2 separate regions of the Homo sapiens genome follow, and region 1 is linked to region 2. The links are contacts of gene promoters, found by promoter capture Hi-C in blood cells and fetal thymus (Javierre and others, 2016). All regions are on one chromosome and are shown on one strand. Each heading gives the region's core, a stretch centred on a gene start or on the middle of the fragment in contact. The rest is flanking DNA. Distances are from core to core; before and after follow the strand shown. Region 1 holds the start of KCTD15 (potassium channel tetramerization domain containing 15). Region 2 holds the start of ANKRD27 (ankyrin repeat domain 27).

Region 1 (3,580 bases), core at 433-2,932, 1.1 Mb after region 2:
GCCGCGAAGAGGGGAGGAGGCGAGGGGAGGGTGGGGAGGGGAGGCCCCGGCGCGCCGCGCCGCGAGGGGCCGCGTGAAGCGGGGGCCGGGGCGGGAGGGGTGGGTGGGGGGAGGGTTGGGGGCGAGAGAGAAAGTAACTCCAGGACGAGACCGGAGCGACCCGCGCAGCGAGCATAGGCGGCGAAGCTGCGCCCGGCGCCCGAGACCGGCAGCTGCGTGGGGCGGGGGCTGCGCCCGAGCCCGATCTGCCGGCTCCGAGGTAAGCTCAGCGCGGGCGGCCACCGCTCAGAGCCGCGCAACCCTGCCCCGAAGTGGCTGCGATACCGAGAAAGTCGCCCGGCCAGGGTCTGGACCTGGGCGGGGGCGGCCGCTTTGTCCCTCTGCTGGGCGGCGGGGGCTGGCGGCGCGGGGGTGCCCAGCACAAAGGCCTGGTGCAAGAGTGGGGTTGCCCACGTGGGCTGGTCCTGGCCGCGGGTGGACCCTCCCCACGCGGGCGGTCTCGGAGCTTCCTGCCGCGCGGTGTGTGTGTGTGTGTGTGTGTGTGTGTGTGTGTGTGCGCGCGCGCGCGCGCGCGCTTGTGGAGGTCCCCGCACTCTGGCCCCTGTTCTGGGCCGAGCGCCCTGCAGAGCTGGCGAGTTTCCGGGGTCAGAAACGGGCTCACGCAACTGGGGCTTCGGGATGCACAAGTCCCGGCTTGGCGCCCAAAATCAGAGAAAGTCTCCAGTGGGACAGATGTGCGTCCTCTGACGCCCACCCCACGAGTCCGAAACCTGGCAGGAGGGGCTGTCGCGCTGGTGGTGGTCCCGGGCGCGCAGGGTTTGGGGCTGGGAGAGGGGCCGCGATGGGAGGGATCGCCGCCTGCAGATCCGGTTCCCCGCTGCCCGCCCGCACCCCCTGACCTGGACGCGCGCACCCGGCACACACTCGCAAACACACCCGGGGGCGGACCCCCGCCTCTGCAGCGCCTTTCTGTCTTCCGGCGGCCCCCACCCGCGACTGCAGAAAGATAAGCTTCAAGTTTTCGCTCCGTATCTCAAATGTGCATGAAGGAATTTAACTGCACGAGTGAATAACAGCATTAGTTTCAATTAATTTTTTTTTAATCCCGGCAACAATAAACTTTGAGAACAAAAGCGCTTTTACGTCCTTAATTAGGCGAGCTTCCCATCTGTGGTCTCCAAGTGTCTGCCTCTTGATTTAACTTTGTCCCCGCCCCGCCTCCGCGGCAACCCCTCCCAGCCCAGCCCCGCGCTTCGGGTGCCGCGGCCACCCCGCCCCGCGGCGCCTCCAGCCTTGGCCCAAGCCCTCTCCCGTCGCCCCTAAGTTCACACCGGCCGGCTGGCTCCGCGGCGGAGGCGGGAGGGGGGGGGTGGGGAGGCTGGCGCGCACCAGGTGGCCCGCCTGCCTCTCCGGGGCCACCCCTGGGACAATTGTGCAGGCCCCCAGGACTTTCGCCCCGGGCCAGCGCCCTGAGTGCGGAGCCGAGGGGAGCTCGAGAGGCGCCTTCTGTTTACCTTTTATGGTTAAAATAACAGCTTAGCAAAGAAGCGACTTCAGAAGAAGCGATTTAGTGAAATCGTCTCAAGCTGCCGCAGCTCAGCCAGTTTAATCACCCCCAGAGAGCCGAACAACTGCGAGCGCAATGGGACACAAAATCATTTTGTGTGTAAATGAGCGTGGCATTCTGCTCACTTCTCTCTGCTCGGGCGGGCGGGGCTCGGCGGCGGGCGGGCAGGGACCCGGGTCTCCCGCCGCAGCTGGAGAAGCGGGTCACTACCGGGCCAGTTTGGAAACCTGTGGGCCCTCCCGACCGCTATCGCTGAGGCCCCTGCAACAGGCGGGCCAGGGCGCACTGGGGCTGGGTGCTGGGTTTGATGCTGGTGCTGGTGGAATGAACTTGTATCTCTCACTGCACCCACTTTTGTGCTTCTGACTTAAGCAGTGGTCTCGGAAAGAGGGTCGTGGTCCCGCACGGATGCGCTTGTTGGGAGAAACCTTGGAGATTCACGGCAAGGCGTAAAGCCTGGGGCTTCCAACGGTAAGTTTCTGGCTTGCCATGAACATCAGGTTGTTCTTGGGAGGGAAAAGGGGCTAAGAACAGAGTGGAGCGGCTTCTGTGATGGAGGCTTGGTGTTCACGTCACTTTGGAATAGTGTCCTGGTATTGGGGAAAACATCTTGCAGTCCGCTTTGATAGAATTTCAGCCAGAATTCCTTCCTGTTCAGTTTATCCTCAGCGCGTCTTCCCTTCTGACTCCTCCCCCAGCAGAGCCTCCTAGGGCAGGATAATCCATTCCTGAGGTCTGTTTTGGTTCTCAGAACTCCTTGAGCTAAGTGACCTGGTTTTGTTTTTTTAAGCTTGTAGAACTCAGGAATGCCAAAAGCAGTGGATTCTGAGTCCACAGGCCCCAGTGAGGGTATATATTAAACATCACTGTCTGCCCATTGCAACCTCCCACCCCAGTTTTATGTCAGGAAACTTGCCCGGGCACTCAGGGAGAGCAACCTTGCTTACATTTGCAGGATTTGATTCTGGTTGGATTAAAATTGGATATTGAATTTCAAGGCACAAATTTTGATCCCAGAGTTTTAATGGGAAAAAGCAATCCCATGGGTCCCAAGAATTTCAAGTGGTTTCTCTCTTAAAGGTTAAACCTTCGAGAGACGTCCAGGGTAGGTTTGTGGAAGCCAGTGTCTGTGGATGTGTGAAGGGGGGTGACTATTCACGTGCAAATCTCCTCTTTCCTCCCTTTTGAGACAGCTGTAAATCAGTGAACGGGGCTGCAGAATTCTGCCCCTCCTGCATAGGGCCTGCAAAGCGCCCCTGGGTGTGGCTTCCAGGGACTGAGGGACAATCTTATTTCAGGTGACTACGGCACAGAGGAGAGTTACTGAGTGCCTCTGGGGAGGAGCAGTAGAAAGGGTCCATTGGCTGATCTGCTTGCTCTGTGCTTCCTCCTGGCCACCTGGCCATCTCCTGATGCCTCGGGGGTATGTGATCCTGAGGGGTCTGGAATGCATTAGGCATAGACAACACCACTCTGGGAGTCTGGGGAGAAACTGTGAGGTACAGACTAGGCAAACAAAGACAGGTTTTCTCTGCTATTGGGAGCCACAGAGAAGAGGCGGCTTCCCAAGTGACTTGCCCTCATCCATGTGCCTGGACTTCTGCTGAACGGCTTCCCTGTGTCTGGCCAGATGCAAGCTGTATCTTATCACCATGGGGATGGTATTAAGAGAGGTCCTAGGTTCCCTGGCCCATGGAGGGTGAGGGGTGCTTTCTGAGCCTTGGTCCACAAGGCTGTTGCAAGAGGAGACACGCTTGGTAACATGGCTTGAAAGGAAAATACCAGGAAAATCTGGTTTGTTCTGAAATATTTTGGGGCAATAATGGTGAGCATATGTTTCAGTGCTGTCATTAGCCGAATTAGCAGACATGGAGCTGCCCAGAAAACACATGTGTGAGTGTGACTGTGTGTGTGTGCATGTATGTGTGTGTCATCTGCTACAGCCTGGAGGCCTGCTTTGGGGTGTGGAGACAGATAGAGAGATAGTGGCGGTGGAGTCAATCAGGGAGGGCT
Region 2 (3,571 bases), core at 949-3,448:
TAATGCTGGCAAATGACAGACAGGAAGAGCCCCAGCAGGGCAGATGCCACAGAAACCTTAACTGGGACACAGAAACATCACTAACAAAGACCCAGCAGCTGTCTTGGTGAGGGAGACACAGTCTAACAGTCACAAAGAGGCACAACGGAGACCCTAACCCCCGGCCCTCTGCAGACACCTCTGCCTGCCCTCCCAGGGAAGCTGCCGGCCAAGATTATTTCAGGTCACCAGGCAAGACTGGGTGTAACTTGGGAATGTAAGTCTATCCAATGTCAGATCCCCAGGTGCATTCCTGTCCCTATGGCTGGTCAGAAGAAGTCTCTGCTCCTGCTCCCATCCTGCATCCCCTCCTTCCAAGGCCTACGGGCTGTGCCTCCTGGATCTGCCCCCTGGATTTCACTCACGCCTGTCCACCAGCAACACAACAAAGCGATCTTTCCAGCGCCGAGCTCTGCAGGATTCCTCAAAGGATTCCCCTGCACTCCCCACCAGGTGAGCCCTCAACTTCTCTGCTAGGTGCTCAGGACCTGGCACATCTGGCCTCTGGCCACCTTTGCAGCTTCCTCACCCTCTGCTGTCTCCAAAGCTTCCCCCGAAGGGAAAGAGTATTTTCCCTCTTTCCACCCATTTTGTCCTGAAAACTACTATCCCCCTGGGAACGACCCTATGTAGCGTGTGGGTGGCTGAGAACCCCCCTTCCACACAATGGTCAAGGCCAGGAGTACCCAAGCCCTGGCAGCAAACACCCAGCCTACTGCTCACCCAGTTAAAGGACGGACCCCTGGGTGACAGCAGGCCCCGGGGCTCAGTACACCGGACCCTTAGGCCACCTCAACACCAGTCCTCATGCCAGGCTGATCTCGAAACGTAACAGCTACTGCTCAGCAAAACGTGGTGGCTAGTGCCTGTAATCCCAACACCTTGGGAGGCCAAGACGAGAGCATGGCTTGAGTCCAGGAGTTCAAGACCAGCCTAGGCAACCTGCTAGACTCCATCTCTACAAAAAAAAAAAAAAAAAATTAAAAATTAGCCGTGCATAGTGGCATGCGCCTGTAGTCCCAGCTACTACAGAGGCTGAGGTGAAAGGATTGCTTGAGTCCAGGAGTTTGAGGCTGCAATGAGCTATGATGGCATCACTGCACTCCAGACTAGCCAACAGAGCCAGACCCTGTCTCAAAAAGAAAAAAACGAAAAGAAAGAAAAGAAAAAAAATATCCACTGCTCTACTCTTCGGCCAGTGGGAAGAGTGCATTTTTTAATCAAAATAGGGGCCTCTATCCATGAAACCCATCAACTTGTAAAATCTGAGCTCTCTGCAGCCTCACAGTCCCTCCAGCACTGCCAGCAGCCCTCGTTCCCTGCATGCTCTAAATCCTCAGCGAAGACCCGTCCCTTGCTCCCTCGCCCAGCACAGGCCGCGAGTGCCCACGTCCCCTGCACCTCGTGGGGCAGCCAAGGGGGCACCGCGTGGCTCGTGTGCTCCTGGGCAGTCCATTTTCAACCACAAGACGGAACAGACTCAGAATCCGGAACATCTCTCGGTGCTTAAGAGTTTTCCTTTAACAATCTTTACCTGTGGGAATGCAGAGACCCCCCCGCCCTGCGAGAGGCCGGCAGCCAGGGATTCCCCGCTCCGCGCCCTCATCACCCCCCGGAAACCACAACCGCTGCGCGCGCGGCTCGGACCCCCACCCGCCGCTCCCCTCCAGCAGACCCTAGGCCTCCGGGAAACCGCGCGGCGACCGCCCCGCGCCCCGCCAGATCCGAACCGCCGGACCCGGCACCCCGGCCACACCCGCCGGTGTCGACGCAGCGAGGCTCGGAGGGTGCATTCTCCGCGCCGACCGCTCCCCTCCTCCAGACCCGAGGGGCGGAGTGGGCAGGGCGCGCCGGCTGCGCACCGGGCACCCACCTGGGGACGCGGGGGCTGGGGCGGCGCGGGGCCACCTGGCGGACCCGGGAGCGGACTCCGGAGAGCAGGGAGCCCCTCCCCCCTCACTCTCCGGGCCCCGCCCGGCCGCCGCGCCCCGAGGCGCAGCCATCCCGCGGGAGGGGAGGCGCAGGAGGAGGCCAGCGCGAGGACACTTACTTAAAAGGCTACATCGCTTCATTCCCAGCCCATCCTGGGCGACGGCGGCACCTCCCTCGTCCGCTGCTGGGACCTCGATGCCCACCACCCTCGCGCGGCGATCTGGCCCTATAGCCCACCCCTTACTCCGCCGTGGGGCGGAGCCGCGCCACAGCTGACCCAATGAGAAACCGTCGTTTCCCAGAGTGACGTGTACGCAGAGCAATCATGGAGTCCAGCCCAGCCGGGGGCGGGGCTCAGGCGGCTCCCTACGCTTCCTACTCCAGCTGGCCCCGCCCCACGCCCGCAACTGCGCGTGCCCAGAACGTGAGGGGCGGGGCTGGGAGCCGGGCTGACACTAGAGGTGGGGTTAGCGCTTGGAAGCACCGACCAACGTGAGCGCAACGCGGCAGGGACACCTGACCCCGGCGGCGCCCAGCCCCTCGGATTGCCAGTCACTGCTCGCTTTGGGGCACGGAGGTGCCCAGTCCTGCGGGGCACCCGACGTCCTGTCGCCGACAGGGTCCGGGAGTCAGTATAGCTGGGTTCTAGTCCCATCACAGGCAAAAACTCCGCGGGAGCCTGGCCCGCTTTTTACCTGGGCCTCAGTTTCCCCATCCGTAAAATAGAACGGGTTGGATCTCCCGAGCGCTAACATTCCAGAACTCGGATGGGGCGAAGGGGAGGGAGGGATGGGCCACCCACACGTGACCTCCCCGCGTGGAGCCCCGCCTACCACTGATCCAGGGGGTGGCAGCTCCGGCCGGGACGAGCGGGGTGGGCGGGTCCTAGGAAACCCTACCCGGCCGCCCTTGGCAGCGCCTAAGGCGGAGCGCGCGGCTCTGCAGCCTGCTTGCCCCGGAGTTGGCACCCACGGAGGATGGGGACCGCACCCTCAGCTTCGCAGGGAGCCACCGTGGAGGCCAGGGCGGTGCAGAGACACGACGTGTGACTCGGAGTGCGCCTGGGGAGGATGGACGAGGGAGCGGGGGACCGCTAACGGGGCTCCCTCTGCGCGCCCCGTCCGCAGAGGCGCACGTCGAGGGTCCCGGGCGGGCTCCGTGGACGTTGGCGGTAGCGCCGAGCGAGTCACGGACCATGAAGAGCGTTCGTGCCGCGCGGCCCAAGGCCGGGATGGGGGTTAGCCACATCCTGCCGCGCTGAGGGGGAGGCTAACGGGCGCGGGCGGCCGGGCCCAGCCGGAGCCCACCGCGATGGCGAGGGAGGAGTGCAAGGCGCTGCTGGACGGGCTCAACAAGACGACTGCGTGCTACCACCACCTGGTGCTGACCGTCGGTGGCTCGGCGGACTCGCAGAACCTGCGGCAGGAGCTGCAAAAGACGCGCCAGAAGGCGCAGGAGCTGGCGGTGTCCACCTGCGCCCGGCTGACTGCTGTGCTGCGCGACCGGGGCCTGGCCGCCGACGAGCGCGCCGAGTTCGAGCGGCTCTGGGTGGCCTTCTCGGGCTGCCTGGACCTGCTGGAAGCGGACATGCGACGCGCGC

Evidence for each region. The method cuts DNA at HindIII sites, captures the fragments that hold promoters and counts their contacts. A CHiCAGO score of 5 or more calls a contact.
Region 1: a contact is called between a fragment that was not itself captured here and the fragment with the promoter of ANKRD27 in region 2, in 1 of 17 cell types (monocytes). The highest score is 5.3, in monocytes.

The regions. Positions count from the first base shown.
Region 1 is chr19:33,796,729-33,800,308 of GRCh38, forward strand. KCTD15 (potassium channel tetramerization domain containing 15) reads left to right here and starts at 142. Exons shown (of 7, transcript NM_001129994.2): 1 at 142-259; 2 at 1,940-2,038. RefSeq lists an enhancer at 3,255-3,580. The HindIII fragment of the contact is 1,346 bases long and covers 1,010-2,355 here.
Region 2 is chr19:32,672,982-32,676,552 of GRCh38, forward strand. It overlaps ANKRD27 (ankyrin repeat domain 27), which reads right to left and starts at 2,199. Exons shown (of 29, transcript NM_032139.3): 1 at 2,090-2,199. RGS9BP (regulator of G protein signaling 9 binding protein) reads left to right here and starts at 2,867. Exons shown (of 1, transcript NM_207391.3): 1 at 2,867-3,571. The coding sequence starts at 3,283. RefSeq lists silencers at 1,684-1,733, 1,754-2,483, 3,054-3,113 and enhancers at 2,127-2,746, 2,634-2,743, 3,514-3,563. The HindIII fragment of the contact is 4,511 bases long and covers 585-3,571 here.